Linked DNA regions of Homo sapiens: all the other regions are linked to region 1. Evidence: promoter capture Hi-C in human tissues and cell types (Jung and others, 2019). All regions are on one chromosome and are shown on one strand. Each heading gives the region's core, a stretch centred on a gene start or on the middle of the fragment in contact. The rest is flanking DNA. Distances are from core to core; before and after follow the strand shown. Region 1 holds the start of POFUT2 (protein O-fucosyltransferase 2). Region 2 overlaps CFAP410 (cilia and flagella associated protein 410). Region 3 holds the start of COL6A2 (collagen type VI alpha 2 chain). Region 4 holds the start of COL6A1 (collagen type VI alpha 1 chain). Region 5 holds the start of KRTAP12-4 (keratin associated protein 12-4). Region 6 overlaps PCBP3 (poly(rC) binding protein 3). Region 7 overlaps PCBP3 (poly(rC) binding protein 3).

Region 1 (2,673 bases), core at 55-2,554:
AAATTCCATTTGCTAATTTTTTTAAATGCTGTGTCTTGGTTCATGAAAGACATTGGTCTGTGGTTCTACTGTCTGGTGATGTCTGACTTTGCTATCAAGGCAATGCTGGCCCATACATCGAGCAGGGAAGTGCCCCTCCTCGTCCATCGTCTGAGTGGCTGGATTCCTATTATTTCTTCTCTAAGTAGGATTCACCAGCTTGGCCCTCTGGGCCTGGAATTTTCTGTGTGAGAAAATTTGATAACAAATTGATCTCAAATTTAACAGATAATAAGCATTAGTATTTTCTTTTTTGGTAACTGGCATCCTTCAAGAAATTCGTCCAATTATACCGTTTTGGGGGCTGCCTGCACTAGAGTCAGCGTGGCGTCCCCTCAGAAGGCCGGGTTTGCCAGCGCCGCGCCCCAAGCCAGGTCGGTCGGCCAGTGCTGGTGCCCTCGGGGAACAGCGGGAGCTGCCTGGAGGCTGCGGGGAGCGGCGGCGGCGGGCACGCACCTGGCTCCCGAAACCAGACCTTTAATAACGCCTCGCAGAAGGGGCGGGGTGGGAGGTTGGCAGCGCAGGGGCGGCAGCCCCGGATCCCCCCAGGTCTCCAGATCACCCCATCGAGCCCCGCGCCCTAGCAGCACAGTCCCTCCAGGGCTCCTTGGAGGGCCAGGCCTCAGCCCGGGTGCCCCCTCGCCGGGGCTCCAGGGTTGGGGGCACCCAGGAGGCCGCAGGTGTGGAGCTCGACGGCGCCCCCCGACTAGAAACCCAGGCTCTCATGCGCGGCTCCCGCCCCGACCCCAGCTCCAGAGGGGCGAGAGCACCCGGCGCCGACCCCGTCTACGGACCCCCTCCTCCGCCCCGCCCCCGCCGTCCAGCCCTCCCGCCCCTACCAGCCCCGGGCCTCCTCCCCACGGACCCGCCCCGCGCCACCAGCCGTCAGCCCTCCCGGCCCCCAGTCTCGCGTACCCTCCCCACTGGCCTGCAGGGTCCACCGACTTCCCGACCCCGGGACCTCCCGACCCCCGGACCTCCCGGCCTCGCGGACCCTCAGGAGCCCCTGCGTGGGCTGCGCCAGGGCGCCCGCGACAGCACCGCCGCGAACCACAGCCACGGCCTCCGGGTCTGCAATGGAACCTCTAGCCGCTGCGGTCAGGAGGGCGGAGACTCTGCGCACGCGCAGTTCCCCCTCCCGCCCCTGCTTGCCGGTGATGGCGCATAACGCATGCGCGGGGAGGGCGGAGCTGGGCGTTGCCGTGGCTACTGGGAACGCATTTCACGGGGGCGGGGCGTGGTTCCGGGGCGGGGCGCGGCCGCCGGAAGTGCGTGGCCGCCCGGGGCCATGGCGACACTCAGCTTCGTCTTCCTGCTGCTGGGGGCAGTGTCCTGGCCTCCGGCTTCTGCCTCCGGCCAGGAGTTCTGGCCCGGACAATCGGCGGCCGATATTCTGTCGGGGGCGGCTTCCCGCAGACGGTAAACGCGCGTCCACGGTGCCAACGCTGGGGTTCCAGGACCGGGCAGGGTCAGAGGATGGGATGGGGGCGGGGCGGGGTCAGGGGCCAGGGAGATGGGATGGGGTCAGGGGCAGGCCCACGGGATGGAGGGTGGTCCGGGGCCAGGGAGATGGAATGGAGCGGAGTTATGGGGCAGGGGCCAGGGGGATGGGATGGAGCGGGGTCAGGGGGCAGGGGTCAGGGGAATGGGATGGGGTCAGGGTTCTGGGGCAAGGAATGTGGCGGAGTAAGGGGCCAGGGTGATGGTATAGGGGCAGGGGGCAGGGGCCAGGAGGGATGGGATGGGGGCGGGGCAGGGATCAGGGCGATGGGATGGGATGGGGGCGGGGCAGGGGCCAGGGTGATGGGATGGGATGGGGGCGGGGCAGGGGCTAGGGCCAGGAGGGGTGGGATGGGATGGGGGCAGGAACGGGGGCCCGAGGGATGGGATGGGGGCGGGGCGGGAGCCGGGGCCAAGAAGGATGGGACGGGGACGGGACAGGGGCAGGGGCAGGGGCAGGGGCCGGGGCCGGGCTGGAGTCTGGGGGATGGGATGGGGCGGGGGCTGGGGGCAGGGTCGGGCCAGCGGGTTGGCTGTAGTCGAGGCTGCGTCACTGCGGCCCGGGTCTGCAGGCGGGGTCGTCTGCGAGGCCCGGGGCGCAGCCTCGGGAGCCCAGGAAGGGGGCCGGGTTGCTCAGGCTGAGCGTGGGCTGGCTCCGGAGGCCCCTGCAAGTGACACGGGTCCAGGCCTGGGTGTGCGGAGCCGGGAGTCAGTGCCGGGCGGGCGCTCCGCAGTGAATTCTCAGGGCCAAGACGAGCTTCGCGGCCGCCCTGTGGCTGTGGGATCTCCAAGCGGACCCCGGGAGGGGCCTGGACGCAGAGGTGTGCACGGCCCCTCGTGGCGTTCGCAGGCCTGGGCGCTGCACGCAGCTTCACTCGCGACGATGGGAGTATGGAAAACCAGCGCAGAGCAGGGAAAGGAGAGCGCCAGGGACAGGGTTTCTGTAGCCCTTGGGGACTTGTCTGTGCCTTGGGGACTTGTCTGTGCCTTGGGGCGCTTTGTGTCCTTCCTCTAGGGCAGTGATCTTAAAGTGTGTCCTGGATCTCTGAGCTTTTGTAGCCGTTTTAATAGTAGTACCAGAGTATTATACGCCTTTTTCACTTCTCATGAATGCACTGTGGAGTTTTCCTAGAA
Region 2 (2,673 bases), core at 112-2,611, 960 kb after region 1:
GGTCGGTACATCACGCTGCTGCCTGTGCCTGAGGCAGACCCCATCCTGGAAAGAGTCCCACAGCCGGAGTTTTGCTCTTGGTAAAATGGGGCGGCCTCATAGCTAGGAGCTGCATGAGACCTGGGAAACCCCGAGTGAAGGGATGGCATGGGGAGGGGGGCTCAGGACGGCAGGCTGCCCATGGGGGCCTGGTGACCGCCCTTCTGAGGCGCCTGCCGGACGCGAGTGCAGCCCTCCAGGCAGGGGGCCCTGGCTCCGCGCCTTTGAGGGCCTGCGGGAGCGGCTCCGCGTGTTCGCTTGTGGAGGGGACGGACCCCACGCTGCAGGGTAAAGCCTGCAGGTCCCCGCTCCAGGCCTGCTGTTTCTCTTCTCTGACGCGTCCACGTTCTGTAGAATGGAAATGAGGCCCATCCCCAGTGTTGCCGCCCTCAAGTGGGGGTTTGGAAGGTCCGTGCTCACTCCCATGTCACGTGGAGCTGGCTCCTAGTTTTTGCCATGAGTTTTTCTGGCCGCTCCCTGCTTTGGGGCAACATGATATGTCCCCTGAGAGGCCTTAATTTTCCTCACCTGTGAAGGAGGGCCACATCCCCCACCTCCCGCACTCTAGCGCCCTGAGGAGCTGATGTGGAGCGTCGGGCCAAGGGGCTGTTGCTGGTGGGGTCCACCCCAGTCCGCCTTTGAGTTCAGGGCCTGGCCTTCCTACAGCTCTCTCCTCGGCCCAGGTCCTGCTGCACGTGACTTGTGACATCCGATTTAGGCTTCTCAGGAGAGGGCAGGGACACAGGTCCCATGAGTGCCTTTTACTGGGGGTGGGGATTGAGAGGTGGCCCTGGGGGCCCTGGCCACGTCCCTCGCTGACTGTGCTGGTCTCCGTGCAGTGTCAACAGCATCTCCACCCTGGAGCCTGTGAGCCGGTGCCAGCGCCTGAGTGAGCTGTACCTGCGGAGGAACCGCATCCCCAGCCTGGCTGAGCTCTTCTACCTGAAGGGGCTGCCGCGTCTGCGGGTGCTGTGGCTGGCCGAGAACCCGTGCTGCGGCACCAGCCCCCACCGCTACCGCATGACCGTGCTGCGCACCCTGCCGCGCCTACAGAAGCTGGACAACCAGGGTAGGTGGCCGCAGCGGAGTCACCGGCCCTCCCAAAACAATCCCTGGAAGGGGATGTCCCCAGCCCTCTTTTCTCTTCTCCTTTTCTGCAAATACCTGGTCTGGCGGGACATAGATGTGTCCTGTGAAGTCTCCTCCAGAGGCTGTTCCCCTGGCTTCTGTGTCTCCTCTTGATCCCGCCACCCGAATGCAGCAGCGCAGCGTAGGGTCCCTCCTGGGACTGACAGTTTGGGTATCCCCCAACGACCGCAGGACCTGGTAGCAAAGCAAAAGGGTTCCTTCTTTTGCTTCTGTGAGTAGCAGCCCTGCTCTGACCATCGCCATGCGCCATGGCGAGCGGGGGCGTCAGTATCTGGCAAGCAGCATCGCACTGGTCCACAGGGACTGGGCAGGCTCCACGGGCCACTGTGAACCTAGGGTGGCGGTGCCATCGCGCCCCTGCCGTGGGGAGGGGCCGTCCCAGCACCGCAGTGCCTGCTGCTGCGCTCCACCTATTGGAGGCACTCGTGCCTCCTCTAGCCAGCGCCAGCACCGACACAGTTTTCCAGGCTGTGGTTTCATGCTGTTTGTTCATCCTTGGCATTCTCAGCACACTAGTGTCTCATCCTTGTCAGGTATACAGACACCACTATTTTCTCCCAGACAATTTTATTGATATTAATAATATAAACTTCAGGGAAATTGATATATGAGAGAAATGGAATAAATTCAATATGGTCTGTTCCTTTTTCTATTGTGTCTTAGTTGAGGTTTTGAGGAGTATTTGCTTCTGGCCAAGGCTGGTGTTGAGATTCCTGAGCAGCCCTCCACCATCTGTTGTGTGTCAGCCTGTGCCAGGCTGGGGATGGGACAGTGAGGAACCGGCTGCTACTCTGGGAGTTGTCCCTGGAGGTGGATACACGTGCATGCATTTCACAAGCAGACTGTGCCTGAAGCCACAGTGAGGACGGGAGCTGCAGTGCATGTGGCCTGCACGTGGGTGAGGCCACTCATGCTGTCTTCTGTCTTTCATCCCAAAGCTGTGACGGAGGAGGAGCTGTCCCGTGCACTGAGTGAGGGAGAGGAGATCACTGCGGCCCCAGAGAGAGAGGGCACAGGCCACGGCGGCCCCAAGCTATGCTGCACACTGAGCTCCCTCAGCTCCGCTGCTGAGACTGGCCGGGACCCGCTGGACAGCGAGGAGGAGGCAACGTGAGGCTGGAGGGCAGCGGGGACTCCGCAGCCCATCCCTGTCCCCCAGGGTCCTCCCACGGGGAGTGAATGGGGCTTCCCGTGAGCTGCGTCTCTGGGAAGTGAGGGACAGGGATTATCCGGGGGGAGTGTCTGTTCTCATCCATATTCTCTGGGAGTGACTCAGTGCCCAGGTAGTGATTTCAGTGGCAGGTCCATGTTTTGCCCAACAGCGGATGTGCCAGGGAGCAGGAGAGGGGGTGAGCCAGGCCCCGTGCCCTGGCACAGAGAAGGCTCACAGCACCAGAGCTCGTGAGGTGCAGGGAGCCCCTGGTGGGGGGGGTGGCCTAGGGCCACAGTGACTGGAATGGTTTGTGGGCACGGCCATCAGTGCCC
Region 3 (2,673 bases), core at 99-2,598, 810 kb before region 1:
TTTTGAGACAGTCTCGCTCCCTCACCCAGGCTGGAGTGCAGTGGCGCGATCTCAGCTCACTGCAGCCTCCGCCTCCCAGGTTCAAGTGATTTTCTCCTGCCTCAGCCTCCCGATTAGCTGGGATTACAGGTGCCTGCCACCACGCCCGGCTAATTTTTTTTTGTATTTTTAGTAGAGACGGGGTTTCACCCTGTTGGCCAGGCTGGTCTCGAACTCCTGACCTCAGGTGATCTGCCCGCCTCGGCCTCCCCAAGTGTTGGGATTACAGGCGTGAGCCACCGTGCCCGGTCTGGCCTTTCTTGAAATAATCACCAGAGTCGAAGTGCAAGGGGGCCTCCAAGCCAGAGCTGTGTTATCCCAAGAACAAGGAGCTCCGCGGATCGCAGGCCCCTCCTTTCTGGGTTCCGACCCCAAAGGGAAGGTCCCTTCTCCAGGGGCGTCCTAGGCGCGGGCACCGGGGTTCTGCTGGCACAGCCCGGATGGGCGCCGCTCGCCCGCACACCTGCGGCTCCACAGAGGGCCGATCCGTTCGGTTGCCAGCAGTGGAGACCCAGGCCCAGCGGTTCCACCAGCGCCCCGGCGGAGTCCCAGGGCGGGTGTGGGCGGCCCGGCAGGGGCTGCGGGTCGCTGTCAGCCCGGGTCCCGCCGCCCTGGGGAGCCGCCTCCGTCTGCAGCTTCTCCTGGGCCTGGCGGGGCCCTGGTGGGCTCCAGGCCGGGAGGGGCGCAGCGATGGGGCGTCGGGGCCACCCGCGTCCCCTCCCCGCCCAGTCCCGCCCTCGGGCACCGAAAGCCCCTCCTCCCCCCGCCCCGCCGCCCCTTCCGTCCGGCCCGGGGAGAGGCCCTGCGCCCCCGGAGGTCCCAGCCAGCCGGGGCGTCTTCCCCGCGGGCCGGAGCCGGACCCGAACCGCTCGCAGACGCGGGGCCTGGCGGGGCGTGCGGTGCCGGGGTCGTCTCGGGAGCGGGGGTCCCAGCACCGAGCTCGGGCGCAGACAGGGACCCCCCCACCCCGCCCAGGCCGGCTCCGCCCCAGAGGAGGCCGCGGGGAGGTGGCCCCAAGTCGCGCGCCCGAGGGTCGGACCCAGAGACGCGGAGCCACAGGGGCAGGCGCGGCCCCAGCCCCGCGAGGAGGAGCCCCGAACCCGCCGAGCCCCCCGCCGTCCCTGGGGCTGGAGTCCCCCTTCCCGGGGACCCGAGGGACGGAGCCGCCGCCGCCGCCTTCCCAGGACTCGGGGTCACCCCCCGCGGGCCGAGCGGCTTCCAGGGTGCGGGGTCCGGGAGGCGCTCACCTGGTCCCGAGGAGGCTCCGCTCCCGACGGCCCGAGGCGCGGGCGCCGAGTAAGCAGCAGGGAGGGAACCGCGGCCGGCGCCGCCCCCTTTATACCCCGCCCCGCCGGCCTGACCCGCCCCGCCGCCAGGAAGCGCTGCGGCCCCGCGGATGGGAGGAGGGGGCCGGGGGCACGGGAGGGGGATGGGAGGGAAGCGGGGACCCTCGAGGGCGGGAGGCTGGAGGAGGTGGAGAGGGTGGGGACCCCCCTGCAGCCCGGGCCGAGCTCCCCCGCCAGCCCCTGCCCGCTGCTGCTCGGACTTCGCGTCCCGGGCCCGGCCGCCCGTCGCCCCCGCCCCATTTCCCGGACGACCTGGCTGGGGCTGTGTCCGCCTCCGGGGCCCTGGGTGTTGGGGACCGCGCCCCGCACGCAGGGCCGACGGGGGCCCTGGGACTCGCCCCTTGGTAGCAGCTGCCCTGGGGGGTGCAGGGTTCCCCCCATCAGCCCCCCGACCCCTCCCCTACCCCGTGTCCTGTGTCCGGCTTGCTCAGGCCTCCCGCGAGAGGCCCCGGGTCAGGAGCTCCTGCAGAAACTGCCGCTCCTGGGGCCTGAGGGTGGGGAGCCGGGAGGGCAGGGACAGCAGAGCCTGGGCGCGGAGGTTGGGGCAGAGCCTGGGCATGCGGCGAGCCACCCCTGCCACCCCTTTCCCGCTGGAAACCACAGGTGGGCTTGGTGCTGGGCCCTGGGACCACCGTGAGGTCCCCACCTGAGCCCAGCCGGGGACAGAGTGACAGGGGTCCCTGGTAGGGCTCTGTCTGGGGTCCCCACTCCCCACCCTGGTCACAGTCCCCCAGCCAGGGCCGGGGTTCCTCCTTGAGGTGAGGCGCAGCCGGGTTGGGGAGAGGTCCCTGGGCTCCGGGACAGGGCTCCCTTCAGAGCTGTCCTGGAAGGTGGCGGAGCGGCTGGGGGCGAGGTCCCTCTTCTGATGAGCAGGTTTGCAAATGTGGTGTGTGTGTGTGTCTGAGACTGAGTGTGTGTGGTGTGTGCATCTGAGTGTGTGGTGTGTGTCTGTGTCTGAGACTGAGTTTGAGTCTGTGGTGTGTGTATCTGTGTGTGGTGTGTGTCTGTGTCTGAGACTGTGTGCATCTGTGAGTGTGTGGTGTGTGTCTGCGTCTGAGGTTGAGTGTGAATGTGTGTGTCTAAGTGTGCCTGAGTGTGAGTGTATGTGCCTAAGTGTGCCTGAGTGTGGCAGCCACATGGTAGCCATGAGTCCAGGGCTCCTGCCTGCTGCTCCTGAGCACAGCTGACGGCGGGCACCGTGTGCCACTCCCCTGGGTCCATGCCGAACTCTCACCTGGGCAATGCCTCCTGCTTCCAAGCCAGCAGCTCCCAGGGGGAAGCCAGGCCC
Region 4 (2,673 bases), core at 106-2,605, 690 kb before region 1:
AGGACTGCGTGTCTGGGCCAGTGCGCTGAGCCCTCTCGGTCAGCCTGCGGGAGCCTCTCTTCCCTACATCTCAGCCTCACTGTCACCTCGGCCCTGCTGAACAGGTGCCACCCCCGCGAGCAGGGTCTCAAACCAGCTCACTCTGGAAGGCGCTGGGAGAGGCTCAGACCAGCTCACTCTGGAGGGCGCCGGAAAGGGCCCCGGCCTCACTCTGGAGGGCGCCGGGAGGGGCCCCGGTCAGGGCAACGCTCGCCCAACCTTAGGAGGTTGAGGCCGTCGCACCCGTGTTCCCCTGGGCCCCCACCCCTCCCTCCAAGAGGCCCAGAAGCACAGGAGGAAGGTCACGGGGCGTCCCTCCTACCTGTCCCTCAGGTTGTCGATGAAGCGCTTGGTGAAGGACTTGACTTTGTCCACGAGGGCCCCGTAGGGCTTCAGCCTCAGGGCCACGCTCTCAGAGGTGTCCAGCACAAAGAACAGGTCCACGGGGCAGTCTGGCCGAAGATGGAGGAGAGGGGCCTTCAAGCTCTCGCCCCATTCCCCGAGTCTCTGCTGGGCCTGCCCTCCCGGCCAGCCCAGCGCCTGCAGCACAGAGCCCCGGGCCCGGAGAGGCTCTCCCGGGAAAAGGCAGCAGGACGTCCCTCGGTGGGGACGGTGGGGAGGGGGTGGAGTGAGAGACCCCAAACCGCTCCTGTGCCTCGAGGGGAGTCAGAAACCTTCACAACCTCCCCCGAAGGGCAGGGCGTCCCCGGCACGGGACCGGACAAGTGAGACCTCACGGGAAGGTTTCTCGCTGGATTCAGAACCAGCAGCGCACGACTTCTTCTAGAACGGGGGTCGGGGGGGCCGTGCGTCTGGACTCACTGCCAGGTGAGGGGTCAAACGGATTCACGGGGCGCCGAGACAGCCCCGCACCAGCTCCCCCTCGCCAGGGAGCCCCTCCCGAGCTGCCTGCGGTCCGGCCCCGCTGAGAATGCTGAATGCTGAGCCTCTAGGGGCCCCGGCCAAGGCCCGGTGGGGCAGAGCTGGGCGCTGCAGCCGCCCCGAGCGGGGAGTGGGGTTCAGGGGCTCCAGGCCCCCAGTCTGCAGTTCCACGCGTGGGAGGGGACCCCGCGCATCTGGCCCTGGCCGGCAGCAAAGAGCGGGGGGTCTGGAGCCTGCACCCCAAGCCACCACTCACCCTGGAAGGCCACGGCCCTCGGGGTCTCCGGCTCATCCTGCGCGGCTGTCCAGCAGGCCTGCAGCAGCAGGGGCAGCAGAGCACGGGCCGCCCTCATGTCTGGGGCCTGCGGTCACCACACAGCGCGGCCAGGGCAGAGTGGGCCGCCGCCGCCGCCCAGAGACCGAGGCTGCCTTCTGCTCCCAGCCAGAGTGAGAGCGGAGGGCAAGGAGGGGAGGGGCGGGGCGAGAGGGGCGGGAGGGGAGGGGAGGGGCGGGAGGGGAGGGGAGGGGCGGGGCGGGAGGAGAGGGGAGGGGAGGGGAGGGGCGGGAGGAGAGGGGAGGGGCGGGAGGGGAGGGGCGGGGCGGGAGGGGAGGGGCGGGGCGGGGCGGGGAGGAGCGGCCCATGAGTCACCACCTCCTTGCTGGGGTCTCTCCCTCCAGAACCGGCAGCAGCTCCGAGCCCAGGGAGAAGGCGGTTTCCCTGGCTGGCTCGCCGCGGCCTGCAGTTCAGTTCCCGTGTCAGGGAGGAGGAAACTGCAGCAGCTGAATCAAACGTCTGAAAACCAGCGTGTCACCCAGGGAGAGTTCCTTGAAACATCTTTCGGTAGTTTCCAATCCAGACGTCTCCATGCGGGACGCACGGGCAGGCTCACTCGCCTCTTCCCACCAACCGCCTCCTGCAGAGGACCTCGCCGTGAGCTGAATTGTTGCTTTATCAGATCTCCGCGTTCTTTTTTCACGTCAATATTTCTTCACAGTATAGTCGGATACGTATTTGCCAAAGATATTTCAGTTTGTACCGTGGGAAGACAAAGTTGCTCACAATATAGTTGTTATATATGCTGTGTGTGGAGACAGAGAGACAGAGACAGAGAGACAGAGAGAGACAGTGAGAGAGAGACAGAGAGACAGAGACAGAGAGACAGACAGAGACACAGACAGAGGAGAGACAGAGACAGAGAGAGAGACAGAGACAGAGAGAGACAGAGAGACAGAAAGACAGAGAGAGACACAGAGAGACAGAGGAGAGACAGAGACAGAGAGACAGAGACAGAGAGACACAGAGAGACAGAGAGACAGAGAGACAGAGACAGAGAGAGAGACAGTGAGAGACAGAGACAGAGAGACACAGAGACAGAGAGACAGAGAGAGACAGAGACAGTGAGAGAGAGACAGAAAGACAGAGACAGAGAGACAGACACAGAGAGACAGAGGAGAGACAGAGACAGACAGAGAGAGACAGAGACAGAGAGAGACAGAGAGACAGACAGAGAGAGACAGAGAGAGAGACAGAGACAGAGACACAGAGAGAGGAGAGACAGAGAGAGACAAAGACAGAGACAGAGAGACAGAGACAGAGAGAGACAGAGAGGAGAGACAGACAGAGACGGAGAGACAGAGACAGAGAGACAGAGACAGAGAGACAGAAAGAGAGACAGAGAGAGGAGAGAGGGGCTGTCCCTGATATCACCTGGGGGTGGGCTCCAGATGTGGCCAGATGCATCCCTGGCCCAC
Region 5 (2,673 bases), core at 116-2,615, 630 kb after region 1:
ATCGGCTCTGGGTCCATAGACTTCTAAGTTCTGTCCACAGCTCTGAGACCCCACTTGGTCTTCAGCCTTGGAGGGGATTTCATTAATGTGGTGTCTGACTTGTCTGAAGGCTTCTTGGCAGGAATCACCCATATCCACCACCAGCAGGCACAGAAGGACCCACACAGGAGCAGAGGGTGCCCCTGGGAGCTGCCTGGGATGGACAGAGTAGCTCTGCCCTGAGAGATGGCTCATCCCCCACCGTGTGACACCACCGTAGAATAAAGCGCTGTGGCCAATCCATCAAGAGAACAGAGCTGGAGTGTGAGGAGGAGCGTGTCATCCACACTCCTGCCCGCTGCTTCCCAAGTTCAGGGGCATCCTGGAATTTCACACCAGCTCCTCACTTTCCCCCAAGCTGCCTCTGCAGGGGTGAGACTGATCAGACCCACAGCGAGGGAGAGGAACCAGATATGAATAGCTCATGCCCGACTCCGTGATGGGTCCTCCTGGGCTCCGTCTGCAGAGGAGGTGTCCTGTGGCCATTAGTGCTACTCGTGGGAAGTGGGCACTTCTGAGGTGTGGTGTCAGGAAGCCCACTGTGGTCACACGCCTGAGCCATGCTCTGCAGACGCCAACGTGGCTGATGTTTTCGTCCATCTTCTCTGTCCGAGCTGGTTCAGGACTTCAGGATGAGTCACTTATTGAACCTTCAAGCCCTAGTATAATTTGGCACAGTGGTAACGACCATGGATCCCAGAGTGAAACTAAGCAGTCCAGATCCCTGCACCTCTGCAGTGGTGCAGACACGCACCCATTGTGCAAACCCTCTATGACTTACAAATTGCACATCTGTAAAATGGGGTATCGGCCACCCCGAATGCTGGCAAAGATGAATGAGATAATCACAGCCTGGCACAGTGCTAGACCTCTGTGCATTACTGTTACCTCAATAATCATCATTATTATTCCACAATATAGAGCCCAGTAGTTTGGCTCTCGTTACTTGGGAAGACCCTGATGATGACTGAGCTTCTCAGTCAAAACGGGGCCCCTGGTGTAGTGAGTGTGACTGTGCTTGTGTGAGCTCCAGATGGCATTTACAACGGGGGGACCTTGAACATCCATGAGGTGGGCCCCTGGCCTCACTGACAGCCCTTCACCAGCTACCCCTGCTCTGTTTCCAGGAAACACACGGTCTGCTGAATGATAGGGCACCCCTAGCTGAAAGAGTTTCCTGAACTGAGTAACCTCAACAGAAAAACACAGAAAGATCAACCAGACAGGGCAGAGGAGGAAAAACCACCCACGAGGAAGATGCCAGGGGGCTTGTTGCCAGGATGCCGGTAGCCTGGGTATAAAGGCCACCTAAGGAAGCAGGCTCCAGACCAGCCCTGTCCTCTGCGCCCCCCACCTGTCCACACTCCATCATGTGCCACACCAGCCACTCTTCGGGCTGCCCAATGGCCTGCCCTGGCTCCCCGTGCTGTGTCCCCAGCACCTGCTACCCACCCGAGGGCTATGGGACCTCCTGCTGCTGCTCAGCCCCCTGTGTGGCTCTGCTGTGCCGGCCCCTGTGTGGGGTATCCACCTGCTGCCAGCCAGCCTGCTGTGTGCCCAGCCCCTGCCAGGTGGCCTGCTGTGTGCCTGTGAGCTGCAAGCCTGTTTTGTGTGTGGCTTCCTTCTGCCCAACCTCTGGGTGCTGCCAGCCCTTCTGCCCCACCCTGGTCTATAGACCTGTCACCTGGAGCACCCCCACTGGCTGCTGAGCAGGTGGCCTCCTATGACCCTCGTAGGTGCGAGGTCAGAAGCCAGCAGGCTCTCTGAACTCCTGCCAGGCAGTCCCCACATCCTCCCACAGCAAACTGTCGTCACCTGACTAGACCGCCTGCCTCCTTTGCGGCACCGTCACTAGATCCCAGCCGGTGAGGCCATGCGCCTTTCTACACAGTTTCTCCTGGGTTCACAGCCTGGGCCATCCACAGGGCCCTCCGCACTGTCTGATGTTAGGTCTCTTGCAAATATCATAAATACCAGATGCTGAGTGCTCACCTGAGTCTGTGTGATGCCTTCTCCTCAGTGTCTTTCCCACACTCCTTCCTCAGGAGGTACCTTCCCCAGGATTCTGGAAAGCTCCTTCCCTGCAGAGAAGGGGCAGGTACCAGATGAATGTTAGGCCTGGTGAGCGGCCTCTCAACAGCACCCTCTCGGGCTAGTGGGCCGTGCTCCTGAGCTTGGCCTGATGGGAACCCCCAACCCCAGTCACATCAGGCTTCCTTCGTCCCACTTTGTTCCTTAAATGTATGAGGTCAGTTCTTACTCTCTTCTGGGTGAGATTGAGGACAAATCACTAATTTTGTAGTTTGATCCATTTTAGGTAAAACGGGCCATCTGCTTATTAGCTGGTATGTGCAACCCACTCTTGTCAAGAAATTAAAACCTTAAACTAAATTTAAATCTATAGCTACTCCTTCATCCAACTGGATGGGAAAGAGGTTTGTGGTGTTGATAAAAAAAGCTTTTAAGGAATTAAAGTGAGCTTTACTCAGAAGTTTTACCGAGGACTATAGAAGAGTGAGGTTTCTAGCCGGGGGCAGCTCTGTCAGAGATTCCGGCTCCGTGTTTCAGCTCACACCAGCCCGGGGGCAGCCCTGTCAGAGGCTCCGCCCCGGGTTTCAGCTCACAGTTCATATG
Region 6 (2,673 bases), core at 76-2,575, 580 kb before region 1:
GGAGAAAGTTACAGATACTTGGGTGAAAGACAAGCTCTGTATTTCTACTTGCCAGAACGCACACCTTTATTCATAAACACAACCCTAAATACCGCACAGGTAAAATCCATAAAATAAACCTCCAGCTGGGGCGTCTGAATTGTTGAATTTGTTCTTAGTGAATTCCAATGGGAAGAAGTGAGTCTCGTGAGCTTTGCTGTGGCAGGATCTGAAAGAGAAGTGTCCACCGAGCTGCCCAAAGCCAACCCCACGTCCTGCGGGGCTCCTGTCAGTACCACAGGGGCAGGAAGCCCTGGCTTGGGTGAGGACGTCCGCCATGGCTCCCTTCCCTGTCTCGGCCACCCCGTCCTAACGCCTGCCTCCCGGGTTCTTCCCAGTGCTGTGGGCTGCAGTTTCCGGTGACGGGGGGACGTGCAACGGGGATGTGGACAATGTTTCTGGAAGTCTGGCCAGGAGGCGGGCCCAGGGACAGGCTCGCAGAAATGCCCGCCAGACCCGCCCAGGCTGAAGCAGGGAGCTGGGCAGGCATGGGGACCCCGAGACCCACGTGGATTCCTCAATGCGCGGGCCAGACGCCTTAAGGCTCAGTGGCGATTTAAACTGCAGAAAGTCAGACACACACATTTGTAGGTCACCCAGACCTGTGGCTTTTATTGACTGTAACAGCATCGGAATCCTTTATTTAAAAAAAAAAAAAAAAAAAAAGAACAAATAAGTCAACACAAACACCAGCGAAGCTGTTCAGGCTGAGATTCGGCGGCGCAGAGCAGGATGTGGGCCGCCTCCAGGCAGCCGGGCAGGCAGGACCCTGGGGCTCTGAAAACCGCGCAGACAGAGGAAGCCACCCTGCAACCCTGGGCACCCACACCGGGAGGTGCCCCTGTCCCTAGGCTCTCTCCTCCGAGGCACCCGCTTTGTTCTGCGTAAACACCACATTCCAGGTGTTCTGTGACTTGATTTCAAAACCCAGGCATAACCGACAGGCAGTGAAGCGCAGGAGTCTGAAGTGACGGTTTGATGTCCACTCGGCACTTGCCGTATGGCCACTAATTCCGGACGGGCCCACTGCGCCTCCGAGTGAGGTGCCAGACCCCCTGGCTGCCAGCCTCCTGTGGCCTCTTCAGCACCATCTGGCTTGCGCCTTTTTTTGTCCAGCTTTTTGACTCAAAGTAACATTTCTGAGACTCTTCCCCGCTGTGTGTGCGACGGCGCTGGGTTCCAGCTATCGCTCTTCCTCTTACCACAGAGCAGAATTCCACGGCGTGAGCCTGGTCCCGGCTGGCCCCTTCTGCTGTGGATGGCACTGGCCACCTCCAGTGTGGGGCTGAGGAAGGAAGACGCTGCGTCCAGGAGGGCGAGTCTTCTGTGGCCGCAGCCGGACTTGCTGTCCTGTGTTCATGAGAGACAGCTATCCGTCTCCACGATGGGCGCAGCCCCCAGAGCTCCTGCAGCTACAGCGAGCCTGGAGATTTCCCTTCTCTCTCTCTGATAAACAATCACGTCGCAAACACCTGGACCATGTCTGTGCACAACACAAGGGTCGGGTGGCAGATTCCTGGAAGGAGAACTGGCTGGTGGAAGGATATTTGCATGTATAACCTTCACGGCCCGCACCCTCCGCGTGCGGTGAATGCGGGTAGCAGGGGTAGCAGGTGCGCCAGGGACCCCGTAGCGGCACACCCTGCCCGCACGCCCGTGTCAGGTCCTGTATGCTGGTGACTACCATCGGGAAGTCTTTCGGGTCATCCGTATTCTGTTTCTAAGCAGCTGTACGTTCATTTCTAGGTGGTTGCTGCTTTCACGCGGATTCGTGGGGGCTCCATCGCTGTCCTGCGAGCGATGTTGCTGCTCCCACAGGCTGGCCCTGCCTCAGATCCGGCGCAGCAGCCGTTGCGTGCCCGCGTTTTGTTCCGTCCGCCGCCTTCCCTTCCACGCCTGCTCTGCCTAGGATGCCCTCCCCAAAAAGACCACGTTAAACAGCCACACACGCTTCTATGGCTGCTGTGGCGTTGCGTTCGGTGTGTGGCAGAGTACTAAACCGTGTTTTTGAATAGATACCTCAATGACCGATGTCTTTCACTGAATAGTCTTCCCATGCCCATTAATTTAAATACCACTGTTTTTTAAGCAAAACAAAACAAAGCCTCCAGTCCTGCCTGTGTTAATTACTCCTGCCGGATAATGTTCTGTTATGGGATTCCTGTTCCCTTCTTTCCTGTGTCCTTCTGACGACTGTCCCCGACCTCCGCCCTAGTACACGCATCTCCGTGACGGTGCACATGCAGACGGGGGTGGGGTGGGCAGGAGGACCACAGGGAAGGGAGGGGAGAGGAGAGGGGAGGGGGTGCTGGAGCCTCTGGCAGGGGAGAGGGTGTGAGGAGCTGGCTTCTGAACAGGCTTCACGCTCGTGTGCATCTGGGGCCAGCCTGAACACCTCAGCCTCTCTGGGATTGCTCCAGCCACCCCCGCCTCCCACCAGACCCCTCCCCAGGTCCTCTCCTCCCCTAAGGCCATCTGTGGCTGGTTCCTGCCCCAGAGACACAGACCCTTCATTTCTCCTGAGCCCCTGGAGGCCTCACAGCCTCTGCCACAACGTCCCTCCCACCCAGCCTCTGTCTTGGGTTCCTGTTAACCTTAACCATGAGCGAGCAGGACCACATTTTCTCCACAGCC
Region 7 (2,673 bases), core at 54-2,553, 520 kb before region 1:
CAGAATAAATACAAGTCTTTCATAAGCAAATGCACACATTTTCACCAAACATCTCCCCCAAGACTAGGATCTTCAGTAAGCTCCCCGGCTCATTTCCATGGCTTTTGGTTTTGCCAGTTAATCGTGCTGTTTCACATGGTTTGATATTGTACACCACCTCAAAGCCTTTCAAATAGCTGGAGTAAATCAATATAATCTACATGGATGGTGTGGGCACTAGGAGGCAAAACATTTTATACCATTTTTATTAATAATAAGTTACCAAGATGACAAGATATTGTACCACTAATTCTAAAAACAGAATCCCTCCAAAGGAGTACTGTGAACACGCCAGAGCCTGCAGCACAAAGCCCGGTGCACAGGAGGGAACCAACGTGTAGGTGCCAAGCGAAACAGCAATGGGGTAAAAAACACTACAGCCACGCGGGCAGCAGAGAGGGAGGCGCGGCAGCAGGCAGTGGGCACCTGTGGGCTGGGCCTCCTGTTCCAGGCAGACAGCCACCTCCCCTGGAGGCCCACAACACCACAGATGAGGAAGAGAAGCACCACAGATGTCTCAAGGATGTTCAGTGCCAGGACGCCCCCAAGGCACCTGCACTAAGGTCTAGGCGTCCTTCATCTCAGCGAGGGCACAAGTGAGATACAGCACAGTAACAACATTCATGGGAAGGGACTCAGCAGCCCACCCCAGCAGGACCTGGGCCATCCGGTGCCCTGGCACAGGGTCACCTCCCGAGGCCTGACTATGGCAGCGAGGCCACGGGGAAGCCATGTTCCAGGCTGTCACCATCTGGGTCCTGGAGAAGCTCAGGGGCCTCTTGGAGCCCATACTGCTCCAGGTTCCTCTGGGTTACCCCAGGTTCATGCCCAGCTTGGCAGTGCCCAGGGACCCTGGGGTGGGCATCAGAGCCAAGCACTGTGCAGGGCAGCTCAGCACACCTTCCTGCCCTCAGTGTCCTGTTTGCATTTAAACTTCATGGGAAAGCTCCCGGCACTGGCAGTATAAAACCACCACGGCTTTTTCCCGACCTAACAACAGACTGCAGGATTCTTGGAGAAAGGGTCATCCTTGGGTGGAGAGGCCTGGACTTCCCCTCATGGCCCGCCCCCAAGCTCTGCTCTCGCCCTCCTTTCCTCAGGACCACCCCAGTGTGCAGCTGCTAGGAGGGGATGCCACCTTCACCACCACAGAAAAGAAACAATAAAAACAATAAAAATGGCTGCTGTCATTGACCAAACCATTCTGGGGGTGAAAGGTAAACAAAGGTCAATCTGCTTATTTTAAAGCATGGCCAGCTGCATGTGCAAAAAACACACCAATACCCTTGCATGGCCACTACCCCCAGCAGAAAGGTGGGCTCTGCCACTCAGACTGTAGCCTCTGCCTCTGCTGAGAAAGTGAGGAGGGGACGCACCCACACAGCTGCAGGCACACCAGGCTGGAGGCAGAGACAGGCTGTTTTCTCAAGTTGCTTTGTGACTGACTTCCAACGAATAGATAAAGAATCAGAACAAGTGTTTGCACAACAAAACAATTTTTGTTTTCAAATTATGACTGTACAATGCAGACGGGAAATGTTATTTTTTATTGAAAACAAGAAAAATCATTAAAAAGAACTCAAAGAGATTCAACAGTAAATATATGAGTATCAATGAAAAATGCACCAAGACCTAGTGAGTCGTTTATACACGACAAGGGTTAAAAGCTTTTCCCTCCGTGGCCTGTGTGTGGTTTCCCTAGGGTTAGCCCTGCTCAGGGCCCTCGGGGACCCTTCCCATCCCTGCCTCCTCCCAGCACCAGCCCTGGAGGCCCTGCCTGGGGTCCTTGGGGACACGATGCCCCTCCTGCTCCTGCCTCCCTCAGGGCCTCTCCTCCCCATGAAGGAGAGGAACATCCCAAACACACAATCTGACCTCCTGCCCTGCTTAGAGCCCCACCATCCTCCCCCAGCCCGGTCCTCCTCCTCCGTCAGCCTGTCCCCATCTCTTACGTCTCCCAGGGGCTCCTGTCCCTTCTCCAGCATGGCTCACTTTTGCTCTCAGAGCCGTCTCTGCAGAGCCCTCTGGGCCACGTGCCCTGACACTCACACCACCTTGGGCAGCCCGGGCACAGGACAACGTAGGCACTCAGTAAGTACAATTGTTTTTAATGAACAAGCTAAGAAGAGGCGAGTGAAGGGAGGTGATGCCATCAGGGCTGTCTTGAAAGAGCATCCTGACCATGGAAGACAGGACGCTTCAGGAACACAGCAAGGGGTGGTGCTGACGCAGGGGCCGGACAGCTAGCTCACCCCCAGCCCCAGCACCCAGCTGTGAGCCTCTGCACCCAGCCCACTTGCATGACAGGGCAGAAACAGCGCCCAGCTGCAGAGCCGCTACCAGGAGAATGTGGGCAGAAAGAGCTTGCACTGGGCCAAGGCCTCTGCCCAGGATGGCATCCAAGGGGTCTGAGGGTAAAGGAGGGAGCCCCGCTAACCACCCAGCCCAGAAGTCACTGCTGAATCATGACGATGCCCTCAAGGAAGAGGAGGGGAGACCCCGAGAGCCACAGAGGGACAGTCAGTGTCACAGGACAACCGAGCGGCTCCACTGATGACGCTGAGATGTTCGGGAGGGATGTGCACCATGAGATCACAAACATGATTAACCTGCAGAATCTGATTAAACTGAGTA

Evidence for each region. The method cuts DNA at HindIII sites, captures the fragments that hold promoters and counts their contacts. A contact is called where the count stands out against the background at its distance.
Region 2: a contact is called between a fragment that was not itself captured here and the fragment with the promoter of POFUT2 in region 1, in 2 of the 25 tissues and cell types used here (dorsolateral prefrontal cortex and spleen).
Region 3: the fragment with the promoter of COL6A2 here is called in contact with the fragment with the promoter of POFUT2 in region 1 in 1 of the 25 tissues and cell types used here (lymphoblastoid cells).
Region 4: the fragment with the promoter of COL6A1 here is called in contact with the fragment with the promoter of POFUT2 in region 1 in 3 of the 25 tissues and cell types used here (heart right ventricle, lymphoblastoid cells and neural progenitor cells).
Region 5: a contact is called between the fragment with the promoter of KRTAP12-4 here and the fragment with the promoter of POFUT2 in region 1, in 1 of the 25 tissues and cell types used here (thymus).
Region 6: a fragment that was not itself captured here is called in contact with the fragment with the promoter of POFUT2 in region 1 in 1 of the 25 tissues and cell types used here (dorsolateral prefrontal cortex).
Region 7: a fragment that was not itself captured here is called in contact with the fragment with the promoter of POFUT2 in region 1 in 4 of the 25 tissues and cell types used here (dorsolateral prefrontal cortex, lymphoblastoid cells, mesenchymal stem cells and 1 more).

What each region holds. Positions count from the first base shown.
Region 1 is chr21:45,286,526-45,289,198 of GRCh38, reverse strand. It overlaps POFUT2 (protein O-fucosyltransferase 2), which reads left to right and starts at 1,304. Exons shown (of 9, transcript NM_133635.6): 1 at 1,304-1,458. The coding sequence starts at 1,328. It overlaps LINC00205 (long intergenic non-protein coding RNA 205), which reads right to left and starts at 1,147. Exons shown (of 3, transcript NR_026943.1): 1 at 955-1,147. RefSeq lists an enhancer at 1-693 and a silencer at 848-1,377. The HindIII fragment of the contact is 23,447 bases long and covers 1-2,673 here.
Region 2 is chr21:44,331,468-44,334,140 of GRCh38, reverse strand. It overlaps CFAP410 (cilia and flagella associated protein 410), which reads left to right. Exons shown (of 7, transcript NM_004928.3): 4 at 879-1,108; 5 at 2,127-2,298. Among named protein-coding and RNA genes, the nearest start is that of CFAP410, 6.6 kb to the left of the region's middle. RefSeq lists enhancers at 1,772-2,271, 2,272-2,673. The HindIII fragment of the contact is 7,900 bases long and covers 1-2,673 here.
Region 3 is chr21:46,096,787-46,099,459 of GRCh38, reverse strand. COL6A2 (collagen type VI alpha 2 chain) reads right to left here and starts at 1,348. Exons shown (of 28, transcript NM_001849.4): 1 at 1,287-1,348. It overlaps COL6A2-DT (COL6A2 divergent transcript), which reads left to right and starts at 1,815. Exons shown (of 2, transcript NR_186433.1): 1 at 1,815-1,988. RefSeq lists an enhancer at 1,231-1,525. The HindIII fragment of the contact is 26,496 bases long and covers 1-2,673 here.
Region 4 is chr21:45,980,452-45,983,124 of GRCh38, reverse strand. It overlaps COL6A1 (collagen type VI alpha 1 chain), which reads right to left and starts at 1,355. Exons shown (of 35, transcript NM_001848.3): 1 at 1,178-1,355; 2 at 362-491. The coding sequence starts at 1,274. It overlaps LOC105372841 (a long non-coding RNA gene), which reads right to left. Exons shown (of 3, transcript XR_937803.3): 3 at 1,559-1,835. RefSeq lists enhancers at 1-734, 735-1,597. The HindIII fragment of the contact is 42,283 bases long and covers 1-2,673 here.
Region 5 is chr21:44,653,351-44,656,023 of GRCh38, reverse strand. KRTAP12-4 (keratin associated protein 12-4) reads left to right here and starts at 1,365. Exons shown (of 1, transcript NM_198698.1): 1 at 1,365-1,811. The coding sequence starts at 1,410. The coding sequence ends at 1,748. All of the region lies in intron 1 of TSPEAR (thrombospondin type laminin G domain and EAR repeats), which reads left to right. RefSeq lists enhancers at 1-400, 401-901. The HindIII fragment of the contact is 6,744 bases long and covers 1-2,673 here.
Region 6 is chr21:45,866,444-45,869,116 of GRCh38, reverse strand. All of the region lies in intron 5 of PCBP3 (poly(rC) binding protein 3), which reads right to left. Among named protein-coding and RNA genes, the nearest start is that of PCBP3-AS1, 31 kb to the right of the region's middle. The HindIII fragment of the contact is 9,205 bases long and covers 1-2,673 here.
Region 7 is chr21:45,801,890-45,804,562 of GRCh38, reverse strand. The region is part of intron 4 of PCBP3 (poly(rC) binding protein 3); the gene reads right to left. Among named protein-coding and RNA genes, the nearest start is that of PCBP3-AS1, 33 kb to the left of the region's middle. The HindIII fragment of the contact is 9,548 bases long and covers 1-2,673 here.